2 separate regions of the Homo sapiens genome follow, and region 1 is linked to region 2. Evidence: promoter capture Hi-C in human tissues and cell types (Jung and others, 2019). All regions are on one chromosome and are shown on one strand. Each heading gives the region's core, a stretch centred on a gene start or on the middle of the fragment in contact. The rest is flanking DNA. Distances are from core to core; before and after follow the strand shown.

Region 1 (7,689 bases), core at 5,093-7,592, 580 kb before region 2:
GTATGTGTCTTTTTTTTTTTTTTTTTTTAATTTTTTTTGAGACAGAGTTTCACTCTTGTTTCCCAGGCTGAAGTGCAATGGCACGATCTCGGCTCACTGCAACCTCCACCTTCCGGGTTCAAGTGATTCTCCTGCCTCAGCCTCCCAAGTAGCTGGGATTACGGACGCGTGCCACCACGCCTGGCTAATTTTTGTATTTTTAGTAGAGATGGGGTTTCACCATGTCGGCCAGACTGGTCTCAAACTCCTGACGTCAGGTTATCCACCCGCCTCGGCCTCCCAAAGTGCTGGGATTACAGTGTCTTTTTGATAATGGCCGTCTTAATTGGGTTGAGATGATTGACACCTCATTGAGGTTTTGATTTGCATTTCCCTGATGATTAGTGACGTTGAGCATTTTTTTTCATATACATGTTGGCCTTTTCCATGTCTTCTTTTGAGAAATGTCTGTGAAGACCACCTGTCCATTTTTTAATTGGAGTGCTTATCTTTTCGCTCTTGAGACATTTGAGTTCCATGCTTGGTCATGGTGGTGGATTCACCCCGGTAAACATGAGAGAGCATTGCTGTCCAGTGTTTAGTGCACAGTTAAGGAATGGGCTGGTGGCCCCTCAATAAGATGCCCAAAAAGGAGTTGCCTTCTGCTCAGCAGACGCCTCTCAAATGGTCTTTATATTCTCTCCAAGGGAGCTTCCCCTGCATCGGACTGTGGCACACGATGCCTTGCCTCTTAGAACCATCTGACTGTCACGTGCTTTCAGATCGTGACAACTTCAGTGTGCGGGGAAGAGCATGTGAAATAAATTACCTTCTGCCTGTGTGAAGCAGAAATAGCTATCGTTACAAAGCAGGGATTTTTTTCCATGCTTACTCCCCACTAAAAATACATGTTTGTTTTTCTAACAGGTTTCCTCCGTTTTTTGATGACAACCCGTTTGGCATTTATCAGAAAATTCTTGCAGGCAAAATAGATTTCCCCAGACATTTGGATTTCCATGTAAAGTAAGTAAACCGTTTGCCTCATCATGAGGTGTGTTTATTTTTAAAGTGTCTAAAATCACCGTGAAAGCACGCACTCAGCAGGATACCATATTGTGTTATTAAATGTGCTGCGCATAAACTATTTTGGACAGTTGTCTTTTCCACAAGAAAAGAAAAAGATTTTCAGTATTCTACTTTAATGATAGCTTCACATTTTAATGAGTCTTGGCCGTATTGTGTTCTTTTGGTGGTATGTTATATTTAAAATGAGCCAATGAACGAGTTTGTCATCGTATTTTATAAGAGAGCAGTTTTGGAATTTGACAAGAAGGATCCTCCTAGTTCTGTGGCTAACAGAACTGTTGATGGGTTTAGCAGAGTTTTATCCTTTCTCTCCTGCTTAAATTATGCTCAACCTCTAAGTCCTTTTTAACGTCAACATTTTCAGTTCTGAGCATGTTGCTTCAAGGATATTTACAGTTGCTGGATATTGGCAACTTTGGATGCACATTTTATAAAGGTCGTGGCAGTAGGGAAAAAATATATTATTTTCTTAAATATAAGAACGCGGCTGGGCGTGGTGGCTCATGCCTGTAATCCCAGCACTTTGGGAGGTTGAGGTGGGTGGAACACGAGGTCAGGAGATCGAGACCATCCTGGGAAACACGGTGAAACCTCGGCTCTACTGAAAATATAAAAAATTAGCTGGGTGTGGTGGTGGGCGCCTGTAGTCTCAGCTACTTGGGAGGCTGAGACAGCGGAATCGCTTGAACCCAGGAGGCGGAGGTTGCAGTGAGCTGAGATCGCACCACTACATTCCAGCCTGGGCGACAGAGCAAGATTCTGTCTCAAAAAAAAAAGAATGCTTTTGGTTTTCTGGCTACCTTACCCAATCTGGTCAACTGGTAGCCATTTTTACTGTAATAAGCACTGATTTCTGTTTGTTTCACTGTATTTTTCAGATGAGTTGATGGGTGCACCAGCCCCCTGGGCACAAACTAGAGCTAAATGCATCTAGTTGAGAATTAAACTTTTCTTTTCCATGGTCTATTTTCTTATGAGCCGGTGGAAGTTCAGTTCAGAGAAGACTTATTTCAGGGCGATGGAGCAGGTTGTTTTGAATATGCCCCTTATGGGGCCACTGGCTACGTTCAGTTGAGTTTCTTGGTGGTGAACGCACCCCATCCTAACCAGAGGTTCTTAGTCTGAACAGAAGATAAGGTCGTGTTTTATTGGCTTGAGCATGTGTTGTGTTTGACACACTAAGAGGCAGGCTTTAAAAGACTTTAGCAAGAAAACGAGGCTCCGCTTAACAATGAGTCGCCTAGAAGGGACACCCTGTCCAGTGAATGGTAAGACAGGGAGGTGTCAGGGGAAACAGCACCTCAGAAGCCGACTGCTCTGGAAGGAAATAGAAAGGATTATATAGAACCTCTCTCTCAGGCCCCAAATCCCATCTGAGTTGAGTGACATTATATTAAGTGGATGGCAAAGCACTTTTATGATCGAGTTTGGCCAGGTGAGGTGCTCATGCCTGTAATCCCAGCACTTCAGGAGCAATCCGAAGTGGGAGGATTGCTTGGGGCCAATCCAATAGTTTGAGGCCAGCCTGGACAATGTAGCAAGACCCCATGTCTACAAAAAATTTAAAAATTAGCTGGGCATGGTAGCAAGTGCCTGTAGTCCCAGCTACTAGGGAGGCTGAGATGGGAGGACTGCTTGAGCCCAGGAAGTCGAGGCTGCAGTGACCTATGATTGCACCACTGCACTCCAGACTGGATGAAAGAGTGAAACTCTGTGTCAAGAAAAGAAAAAATAATAAAATTAAAAGATATAATTATATATATATATGGGGGGGGTTTCCAATGTTCTGTGGAAACAACAACAAAAAAAGGAATTGCAGAAATAGAATAAACCAGAAGCGTAATCAAAGTCTGGTCTCTTGCCACTTGTCCTTCTTTCTCTCCTAGTTTATCTTCTTTGAGAGTAGGGAACCAGCAGCGACCATCTTGGTACTGTCTGATCTAACATGCCTCTCTTTATGCAGCTCCCAGCCCCTTCCAGTGTTCCCCACAGTGCCCCTGTTTCTTTACATACCCAGTGTGGGTTCCCCAAGAGCAGAAACAGTGATAGATAGAAGTGAACTGACAGTTCACTTCTTCCCATTATTTGTTAAATCTTATCAAATTGGCTGAGAAGCAAGACCTCAATGACTCATATCTTTCCTTTTTTTGGTAGAGATGGGTATGGGGATCTTGCTGCATTGCCTAGGCTGCTTTTGAACTCCTGGGCTCAACTGATCCTCCTGCCTTGTCCTCCCCAAGTGTTGGGATTACAGGCGTGAACCACTGCACCTGGCCTTAATGAGGCATTTTTCTTATCCAAATCACTGTCCCTGGTTGTCCATGATGCTAGAATTTTGATTCTCTGCTTTTTAAAGTCATATGTTGGTTCCTGCAACTTTTATCATTTGACCAGGTAAACATGTCGCCTGGGCAAATGGCACATCAGGATTGACATTCCTTATAGAAATAAATATCATTTAAAACAAAACACCAAAACAAAGCTTTGGGACTTGTTGCCAATTCAGTAGAGGTATTATCTGCCGGTGTTTTTTACAACACCTGAAAGTACCTGCATCTGAGAGGAGCCAGCTGGTGCCAGGATCGTAAATAAAATGTAGAATTTTGGCTACAGTGCATCAAAAGAGTGCCGGCAGATGTGTCGCTTATCCCGGGGTCAAGGGACCCATCTACAGCTGTGGACACTTCTGTCGTTCCTTTATAGGGCTTTGCATCTTCAGGGGCCTCTTCTCATCCATACTCTTTACTTTCTAGACTGCTTTATAAGAGTTTGCTTTGGTATTTTACTTTTTCTTTTAAAGAGACGGGTGTCTTGCTCTGTCACCCCGGCTGGAGTGCAGTGGCACAATCATAGCTCACTGCAGCCTCGACGTCCTGGGCTCAAATGACACTCCCACCTCAGCCTCCCGAGTAACTGGTGCTACAGGCATGCACCACCATGCCTGGCCAATGTTTTGATATTTTGTAGAAACGAGGGTCTTACTATGTTGCCCATGCTGGTTTCGAACTCTTGGTCTCACGTGGTCTTCCCACTTCAGCCCACTGCATAGCTGGGATTACAAGCCACTGTCCCCTGTATTTTAAATAAATCTTCATTTTCTTACATGCCAAACACCAAAAAAATTTAAAAAAAAATTCAAGGTCATCAAACATTTTGTTTTCTTACATGACACACACACACACACACACACACACACACACACACGTTGAAATTTATCAGGTGATCACCAAAACATTCTGAAATAAACATAGGGCTTTTTTTCCCCCCTATAATTTACACCACTGCCTGCCCCATTAGCGTATACACTTAAAGCTGATTGGACTGGGATTATAAGAAAACAAAGGTTTATCTAAAATATAAAAGCATAAATAAACCTGTCTTATAATTGCACTCCAGTGAGCTTTAAGTGTGTGTGGTAAGGGGGCAGGCAGTGGTGTAAATCACGTGGGGGACGAAGCCCCACATTTATTTGGGAATGTTTTGGGGGTATAGTGTTTGATAACCTTGATTTTTTTTTGGCAGGGGGGAGCATGTCAAAATAATGAAGGAGAAACTCACTAAGTAGTGGAAAGGTTTCTAACTTTTAGGTGATTTTTATATTCCCCATCCTGCTCAAAGCTTTTCAGCCTTACAGGATGGATACAAAATCCTAGCCTTAGGTGGGCGGACAGATGGTCTCTGAGTTTTACTTTGTGGCAGAGAAGCGGTGAAGTCTGACAAGCATCCCATCCTAATTCAGAAAGCATGGTGGCAGGAAACTGTAAAATTTCCGATCAGACAGCACTGGCGAGATTCACAATCTAGATGGTGGAGTCTGACCCTAGGACGTCACCTGGCTTGTCGGAGACTCCACAGTCTGTCACAGAACCTGGGAGTGGCTCAGTCCAAGTTCGTGCTACTTACCTTGGGGCATAGTTTATGCTGGGAAAGCCTAGACGCTTACACCGGGGTCATGGGTATTGGATTGTTTTGGGGGACTTCAATATATTATATTATTATATCATATTATGTATGTTATTATACATAATGTACTCTGTGTATTTTATGTGTACACACAGACACACATGATCATTTCTACTTCCATAAATATGCATCTTTTAGAACTCACCTAATCTCCTGGAAGTCTTCAACATCATCTCCAACTACCCATCCTAATTGAAGCAGCTTGCTGTTTTTTGTTGTCGTTGTTGTTGTTTGTTTTTGTTTTTTTTTGAGACTGACTCTACCTCTGTCACCCAGACTGGAGTGCAGTGGCTCAGTCTCAGCTCACTGCAACCTTCGCCTCCTGGGTTCAAGCGGTTCTTGTGCCTCAGCCTCCCAAGTAGCTGGGACCACAGTTGTGTGCCAGCATGCCCAGCGAATTTCTTTTTCTTTTTTTTTGTAGAGATGGGGTTTCACCATGTTGGCCAGGCTGGTCTCAAACTCCTCACGTCAAGTGATCCACCCGCCTCGGCCTCCCCACAGTGCTGGGATTACTGGTGTGAGCCAGTATGCCCAACCTCCCCACCTGCTGTACTTCTGACATGGTCTGTTATTTAAAAGGAAGATTATAAGTGAAGAAGCAGACTTAGGAGACTCATCCTAATGTGTGTGCTTATGGGAAAGCCAGCCTTTTAAAACAGGAATCCCATCAATAAGCAGACCCCCAGGACAGCGCGTGAGTGTTGATGTTGGTGAAAGCAGATGTCTTCTATTTTGCAGGGACAGCCTGACAGGCATGTTTACGTTAAGTGTCTGGATCCTCCCTGCAGGCACATATAAATTTCACCCTTTTCTACTCAGAGGTGTATTTTCTTTACAAAGATGTAATCAACCCCCTTCCCTTAGCTTCAGCCTTGCACGGGGCAACCCAGCCTTGCATAGGTGATTTAAGAGCCGGTGATGGTAGGAAATAAGCACTAGAAAGTGTTTTGCCAAAGTGGAAATTGAACTGCGGTCCTCATGTCAGATAGATCTTATCTCTGTTGCCATGCTGCGTTTGCTGATGTTGATATATAATCTGTGTACTTTTTTTTTTTTTGTCTCCTTCCCCAACATAGAGACCTCATTAAGAAACTGCTCGTGGTTGACAGAACAAGGCGATTAGGAAACATGAAGGTCAGTATTTGATCCCGTGGGTATTCAGTGGTACCCGATGTGCGTGTCTGCCGTCTAACACCCACATTGGCATGTGCAGGTATAAACCAAGGCTTAGCGGTCGTATTTAATCACTGCCCAAATTTCAAATCTGGTGTTTTATTTATTTTTTTAAATTTTACTTGAAACTGCCAGGAAAGATCTATCAAATCTCGGTTTCTGGGCCCACAACGTCAAACTGGGTCTACACCGTATCTCCCCTCCCCTCAAGCAAGGTTAATAGAGCAATAACAATGCATAAGTTATTACTCATTATTTTGTTTACTTATTTATTTTATTTTTTAAACAGTTTTACGGAGAGTGAATTCACACGCCATGCCATTTACCCATCTAAAATGTGCAATTCGGTGGCTTTTAGTATACACACGATTATGTACAGCCACCCCTGTGGTTAATCTTAGAACATCTTCATCAGTTCAAAAAAAGAAACCCTGCACCCTTCAGTTATCACTGTGCTATTCTTTCATCCTCTCTTGCCCTAAGCCAGCGGTCCCCGACCTTTTTGGCACCAGGGGCCAGTTTTGTGGAAGACAGTTTTTCCACAGACCGCACAACCTAAATCCCTTAGTTGCGCAGTTCACAATAGGGTGTGTGCTCCTATGAGAATCTAATGCCACTGCTGATCTGACAGGAGGCGGAGCTCAGGTGCTAATGCCAGCCATGGGGAGCAGCTGTCAGTACAGGTGAAGCTTCGCTCACCTGCCTGCTGCTCACCTCCTGGTGTGCGGCCCATTTTGGTTCCTCATAGGCCGTGGACCACTACCAGTTTGTGGCCCAGGGGCTGGGGACCCCTACCCTAAGCAGCCACTAATCTACTGACTTTCTCTGTAGGGTTCGGTGTTCTGGGCTCTGCTAAAAATGGAATTGTACAAAATGTAAGCTTTTGCCTCTGGCTTCTTTCTCTGAGCACGATGTCTTCAAGGTTCATCCAGGCTGTAGCCCGTGTCAGAGCTTCCTTCCTTTTCCTGACTGCATAGTATTCGATTGTGTGGGCAGACCTCGTTTTGTTTATCCATTCATCTATGGATGGACATCTGGGCTGTTTCCACCTTTTGGCTTTTGTGAATGGTTCTGCCATGGACATGAGAGTAGGTGTTTTGTGTGCGCAGGTGATGATTTTAAAAGTTGTGCATCAGGTATGATTTCCACAAACTTTTTGTGTGGAGGCAAGTATATAATTGACAAACAGACTATTCCTTAAGTAGTATCATACCTGATATGCGTGTTTTGACATCCCTGAATTTGACAGAATTCATGGACTTTTTGTTGGCCATTTCTAGCTCTGGACAACCTCAGAGGGACTTATACATGGAGGAACTTCCATATACGTCTTGACCCTGTAAATTACAGTCTGGAGAGACACAGTACACCGGGGTGTGAGGCTTGAACCACTTGGCTCTCTTGGGGCCCTCTGTGTGGTTTACGAGTCTCCAGTAGCTGCCATAAGAACTGACCACAAACTAGGGGCTTAAACAACAGGAATTTCTG
Region 2 (7,541 bases), core at 1,864-4,363:
CACCATCCCCTTTCCAGCTCCTCTTCCACCAAGAGCCACTTCCACTGCTCAATAAAGTCCTCCACATTCATCATCTTTCAGTTTGTGTGACCTGATGATTCTTGGACACCAAACAAGAAGTCGGTGTCCAAAAGGACAGATGCAGAAGGCTGTCACCTTGACCCTTCACTGAGCTGTTAACACATAGCTGTCCACAAACTGCAGGCTGAGTAACATGAGCCACTCCAGTTCCTGCCCACGAAGGGGGTCAAGGTCAGGGGAACAGTCCCATCTAACGTGACTCTAAGATTTTAAACCACTGGACAGGATTTTGAAATTAAATTTACCAAATTAGTCTTACCAAAGATTACTAAAGGAATGTCAATTAAAAGCATCTGAGCTAGCTTTTGGTTGTCTGATAAGCACTTACTTTTCTTTAAGCCATTTGATTAGAGCTCTTTCATATAATTTGGTACTGAAATATTACTTCCTCATGACAGATAGAAACTTACAGACAAGGCCAGGCATGGTGCCACACGCCTGTAATCCTAGCACTTTAGGAGGCCAAGACGGGTGGATCGCTTGAGCTCAGGACTGAGACCAGCCTGGCCAACATGGCAAAACCCCATCTCTACATAAAAAATACAAAAAATTAGCTGGGCGAGATAGTATGCACCTGTGGTTCCAGCTACATGGATGGCTGAGGTGAGGCAGGAGGATCCCTTGAGCCCAGTGCTCAAGGGAACAGTGAACCAAGATCACACCACTGCGCTCCAGCCTGGGTGACAGAGTGAGACCCTGTCTCCAAAATAAACAAATCAATCAAACAAACAGACAATAAATAAACTTATAGACAGACACACAGATAGAGGCACATCCTATAACATTTTTCACTTGCCTGTTTTCAAAAATTCTCTCTCTTCCTTTAGACTATTAATTTTTAAAAAATTACGGGAGCCAGCAAAAGTTGAAGGAGAGAGTTACCATCCCAGGCCTTTTCAAAAGAGGGAAAGCTCTGAGGCAAGCAGGATGCAGCAGAAGTGGAACCCCTAGGATGTCCATCTGAAGAATTTCAAGAAGAGATTATGGAATTCAAAAATAAAAAACTTCTTGCAATTTCACTGAGTACATCAGTATTTTAAGAAAATCTTGTTCTAACCAATGATCTCCTTTTGCATTACTGTATTTTTATTATTGAAGTCCAATACCTAGAATGATTATAATTTCCTTTTAGTTATAGCAAACTTAATTACATAAAAATTTTTTTGAATTCCTTTTTTACAGACTGTATTATGACTTGCACAGACCATATACAACCTGCTTGGATTTTCTGTTCTGTCCTAAACATCTCTCTTAAACAACAAGATTCTTTCTCATACAAAATTATTTTTCTTTTAACATTTCTTACCAAAAATACCTCCTTGTAACTTTCTTCTTCTTTTTTTTTGAGATGGAGTAGTCTCGCTCTGTCACCCAGCCTGGAGTGCAGTGGCACGATCTTGGCTCACTGCAACCTCTGCCTCCCGGGTGCAAGCAATTCTCCTACCTCAGCCTCCTGAGTAGCTGGGATTACAGGCACATGCCACCATGCCTGACTAATTTTTATATTTTTAGTAGAGGTGGGGTTTCACTGTGTTGGTCAGGCTGGTCTCAAACTCCTGACCTCATGATCCGCCTGCCTCAGCCTCCCAAAGTGCTGGGATTACAGGTGTGACCCAATGCACGCAGCCTAACTTTCTTTACATCTCTTGTTTCTTGGTTCCTTTTACCATATTTCATAAATAACCCTTAAATAAACCTAGAATCTGGCCGGGTGCGGTGGCTTGCACCTGTTATCCCAGCACTTTGGGAGGCTTAGGTGGGTGGATCACCTGAGGTTAGGAGTTCGAGACCAGCCTGGCCAACATGGCAAGACCCCTATCTCTACTAAAATTACAAAAATTAGCCAGGCATGGTGGTGGGCACCTGTAATCCCAGCTACAAGGGAGGCTGAGGCAGGAGAATCGCTTGAACCTGGGAGGCAGAGGTTGCAGTGAGCTGAGACTGCACCATTGCACTCCAGCCTGGGAGACAGAGCGAGGCTCCATCTCAAAAAATATAAATAAATAAACATGGAATTAGATGAAAATAACTTAGCTTTGAATAAGAACATATTTTTTAGAAAAGTTTTTCTATAATACAATTTATTTAAATTGAAAATGGCCCAGACATTTAGTGAATATCTATTATTTAACTTTAGATTCTAAATTATATTTATTTACAGGCATTTGTTTCATTACATTTACCTAATTAATTTTATAAAATCTTTTACCTAGATTATCTGTGAAAACTCTGATAGTCATCATTTAAAGTTATTTCCCTGTTAACCATTTTTATAGTCTATGAATTTTCTGTGTTTGCCTAAGCAAAAATTTTAAATATATATATATTTTACTGATAACTTGGGATTTAGCTCTTTTTACTACACTAATAACATTAAACGTCTTATTTCTCAAAAAGTACAGAAACAAAGATTATTGTGTTTCATGCTGGGTTGCTGGGTTTATAGTTTTGTAAGCCTTATGCCAAATTTTGACACCTTATAATATCTGTCAGAGGTAAATATGAAACTGCTTGATCAGTAAATGCAAACAAACATGTATGCTGACAATTTTTAAGATATTTCTAATACTATCGTACCAATAATTTTAAAGCCAGCTTATTTATTAAAGATTTATGTAAGTCACGTGAACTTGAAAAGCGTTTTGGCTTATTATTTAATTTATGAGTACTCTTTGACTTGAAGCCAATTTGACACTTCAGGGCTAAAGCACGTAAAAAATGTATATGTGCACACATATGTGCATGTACATAAACACATCTAAATACGCATGCACACTCACACAAAGATCCTATAGCTTTTACTTCAGAACTCTAGCAAGAGATATCAACACAAACTCACCAGTTTATACAAACAAAAAGGTTGGATCCCAACAGTGACTTCTATCTCAACAGCAGTGGAAAAGTAACAGAAGGGCCAGGAGTGGTGGTTCACGCCTGTAATCCCAGCACTTTGGGAGGCCGAGGCCGGCGGATCACTTGAGGTCGGGAGTTCGAGACCAGCCTGGTCAACATGGTGAGAGCCTGTCTCCACTAAAAATACAAAAATTACGTAGACGTGGTGGCGCACGTCTGTAATCCCAGCTACTGGGGAGGCTGAGGCAGGAGAATCGCTTGAACCTGGAAGGCAGAGGCTGCAGTAGATAGCGCCATTGCACTCCAGCCTGGGTGACAGAGCAAGACTCTGTCTCAAAAAAAAAAAAAAAGAAAAAGAAAAGAAAAGAAAAGAACAAAAAGTAAACAGAAGATTTAAAGTAGGCAGAAAAGAAAATAGCAAAATAGAGGACTTAGGAACTGATTGGTTGCAGGTTGACCTTTGGGCTGGAATTTTCTCTGGTGTAATGTGTGCAGCAGTTTAAAGTGTGAACAAGCACAGACATAATATGTAACAGGAAGCTTCTTGTTTGACCTGGCATGCCCTCAAGCTTTTCCCGCTTACACAAATACTTGCAAGTAGAGGAACCAGAGAACCAAAAGGGGTGCCCAAATGGGGGTCGCTCTCTCCGCCTTTCCTCATCCTTACATGCTATGTCTCCCACTTTTATTTTAAAATGAGGAACTAAACTGTGGCCTGGGTTTTAGTAGGGTGGATTGAAGTGTGCTGGCTGTGAGAGGGACTACACTGTGTGTCACCACTGAGTCTTTCTACCCTTTCACGTGTCTGAGTTTCTCTCTCCAGAGGTCTAGACCTCTGACAGGGCTCAACATAGCAAGTGATCAGCTCTTACACCTGTCTCCTGGATGAGCCTCTTAAAATTAATTTTGTTGTGTGGTTCCCTGTAGGGTCACTGCACATCATGGCAGGAGTCAATCCCCCAGAGACTCCCACTCAACCCCTACCACCCAGGGGTGGTTTTTGGCTAGGAGGAGCAAAACTCCCTTTCTTTTCCAAGCTGAGGAGGTCAGCCTCTCGTTTGGCAATTCAAAATTATGCCACAAAAGTGGCAGTTCAGTCTCTCACGCAAATGTACTCACAGGCCAATCGACATTAATTTGGGGGGAAAAGGGCAGTGGAGAAGACCATTTAGAATGCACCACCAAACCTAAAGTAGGATCCTATACAACAACTTCCTAGGAGAAAAATAAAAAGGAGGTAGAAAAACAGCTCAGAATGAACCAAGGACCATCAACCAAATGGAAGGTCCAGAGCTGCAGAGGACTCACCGGTTCCACTGGAGGAGAAACCTAAAGCCAGGGAGGGCTTCCAATGGCCCTGCGGGTAACTTAGCTCCGGGTTCGGGCAACTGCGTCAAGGATTCTGAGTCTTTTCTGAGGCCCCACGTGTAGGGCACCAATTAATGTCCATGAAAAGAGTCAAACTCTGTAAAATATTTGAAAAGAGTTATTCATTTAACCAATGGCTCACGACACAGCCCCAAGGAGGTCCTGAGAACAAGTGCCCAAGGTGGTTGGGTGACAGCTTGGCTTTATACAATTTACGGGGACAGGAGACATCAATCGACACATGTGAGATGTACATTGGCTTAGTCCAGAAAGGTGGGATTCCATTCAAAGTGAGGAACTTCCAGGTCGTAGGTGGATTCCAGGATTTTCTGATTAAAGACCTGTAATTAGTAGAAAGGAAATGTCTGGGTGAGGATAAGGCGTTGAGGAGACCAAAGTTTTTATTATGCACATGTAGCCCGCAGGTAGCAGGCTTCAGAGAAATCAGGTAGTAAATGTTTCTTATTAGACTTAAAATGGTGCCAGACTCTTGCTTAACCTTTCCTGGATCAGAAAAAATAATAATTTCACAGTGGAGAATTCCAACAGACACCACTTAATCCAGGTGATGAAATTTAACATCACCAGGACAGGACATACAGACATCATGCACTCCGTAACATGACACACTGAAAACTTACATCAATTCTGATGATTTTTTTGCCAAAAATGCATAACCTCAGTCTAATCATGAGAAAACACTGGACAAAACCAAACTGAAGGCTGGGCACAGTGGCTCAAGCCTGTAATTCCAGCACTTTGGGAGGCTGAGGCGGGCGGATCACCTGACATCAGGAGTTCGAGACCAGCCTGGCCAACAAGGTGAAACCCCGTCTCTACTAAAAATACAAAAACTAGCCGGGCGTGGTGGCAGGTGCCTCTACTCCCAGCAATTGTGGAGGCTGAGGCATGAGAATTGCTTGAACCTGGGAGGCAGAGGTTGCAGTGAGCCAAGATCGCACCACTGCACTCCGGCCTGAGGGATAAAGGAAGACTCTGTCTCAAAAAAAAAAAAAAAAACTGAAGAACAATCTATAAAATAATTGACCATTACTTAGATTGGATAGTGGAACAGAATCATATCAAATGCATCCATTTATTTTCAACATTTTGTTTGTTTTTAATTAAGCTGCCTCCTACACTACCGTATGTCCGGATTTTATGTTTATTTTCCCATTCAGAAAGCCTATCTTTTTTAAAGGAATTTTAATCCATCCATGTTTATTATGATCATGGTTATATTTGGATTGAGTCCTGCAGTTTCACTTTATATTATTTTCCCTTTTTTACACATATCAGATTTTCTGCTTCTTCGGTGTAATTCTTTCCCACCCACCTCTGATTGCATGAATCAGGTTTTCTTCAATCCACGCATTTCCCATTAAGGCTCTGAAACTTGTACACATCTTTTCTAGTTTTCTGGTGGTAACCACCTTTCACCTGTCAGCACACGTATTTAAGCTTATATTTTCTATCAAATATAAAGATAGTCATTACCTATGTCTTCTTCCCAGACGAAACAAAAACATGAACATATGCTCATTCTCTCTTTCTTCTCTGCTCTTTCAATTACCTCCCATGTGAAATGTTAATTCCAGATTATTTTCACAACTGTGCACTAACACATTCAGACTTTGTTTTATACATTTATTTATTCAGCACTGCTTCCTGTGTACTCTCTTCTTTTTATTATTATTATTAGTAGTAGTAGTAGTAGTATTTTGAGACAGGGTCTTGCTCTGTCACCCAGGCTGGAGTGCAGTAGTGTAGTCATAGCTCACTGCAGCTTCAATGTCCTGGGCTCAAGTGATCCTCCCACCTCAGCCTTCTGAGTAGCTGGGACTACAGGCATGTGCCACTCAGCAATTTTAAACAAATTTTTAGTAAACACTCAGCAATTTTAAACGAATTTTTAGTAAAGATGAGATTGCACTATGTTGTCCAGGCTGGTCTTGAACTCCTGGACCCAAGCGATCCTCCCACCTCAGCCTCCCAAAATGCTGTGGTTACAGGCATGAGCCACTGTGCTTGTCTACTCTCGCCTTTCTTGTATTACATTCCATTTTGCTGGAGTCAATCAACTAACTTTTTCCTCAAAGGTCTTTGAGGGATAACATTTTTGAGCATTTGCAAATTTGAAACCCTCTGTAAAGATCAAAAATGGCACATTCATTTTCTTCAGTCTCTCCATACCTCAGGTGATATGGTTTGACTGTGTCCCCATCCAAAGCTCATCTTCAACTGTAGCTCCCATAATTGCCACGTGTTGCAGGAGGAACCCAGTGAAAGATAATTGAATCATGGGGGTGGTTTCCACTGTTCTCATGGTAGTGAGTAAGCCTCATGAGATCTGATGGTTTTATAAGAGGTTTCACTTGGCTCTTTTTTCTCTCTTGCCTGCCACCATGTGAGATGTGCCTTTTGCCTCCTGCCATGATTGTGAGGCCTCCCCAGTGATGTGGAACTGTGAGTCCATTAAACCTCTTTCCTTTATAAATTACCCAGTCTTGGGTATGTCTTTATCAGCAGCACGAGACTAATACCTGAGGAATATGTTCTTCCTGGCAAACATGCAGGGCAGCAAACACAAAGACACTCTGGGGCTATTTCTTAAATCTCCCTCCTACTACCTTAACAATTCTCCAAAATAATGCTGTGAGTTTTGGAAAATATAATAATGAAGGAAGGGTTTGCTCCCATCACCTCGTTGCCAGCTCTCTGGCAAAACCACAGAAAATCTCTTCTCAGACACCTTCCAGAACTCACGTCTTTAAGGTTCATGGTAGGAGGCTTCCCATGTGGGAGCGTCCCTGATGAAGACTCTGTCTGTCCTTCACTCTCTCTCAATTCCCCCAGTCCTCTGAATATGTGCCTTTTCATGTCCCAGCATGGGATGATAGACAGATCAGGGCAGATGGTTTGAGTAAGACTCCTACTTCAGCTACCTCATGTTTCTTATACATTCATTTAACACCTCTTATTTTGTCAGCATTTTATTTTTATTTTTAATTGATAAATTTTATATATATTATATATAATATTTTATATATAACATTATATATAATATTTTATATATAACATTATATATAATATTTTATATATAATATTATATATAATATATTATATATATTATATATATTTTATATATAATATTATATATATTATATATATTTTATATATAATATTATATATATTATATATATTTTATATATAATATTATATATAATATTTTATATATA

What was found. Contacts are between HindIII fragments. The study calls those that stand out against the background at their distance.
Region 1: a contact is called between a fragment that was not itself captured here and the fragment with the promoter of ARSF in region 2, in 2 of the 25 tissues and cell types used here (bladder and mesenchymal stem cells).

The regions. Positions count from the first base shown.
Region 1 is chrX:3,619,732-3,627,420 of GRCh38, reverse strand. It overlaps PRKX (protein kinase cAMP-dependent X-linked catalytic subunit), which reads left to right. Exons shown (of 9, transcript NM_005044.5): 5 at 907-1,002; 6 at 6,105-6,162. Among named protein-coding and RNA genes, the nearest start is that of PRKX-AS1, 36 kb to the left of the region's middle. The HindIII fragment of the contact is 4,454 bases long and covers 4,116-7,689 here.
Region 2 is chrX:3,037,043-3,044,583 of GRCh38, reverse strand. It overlaps ARSF (arylsulfatase F), which reads right to left and starts at 3,113. Exons shown (of 11, transcript NM_001201539.2): 1 at 2,921-3,113. The HindIII fragment of the contact is 6,572 bases long and covers 1-4,633 here.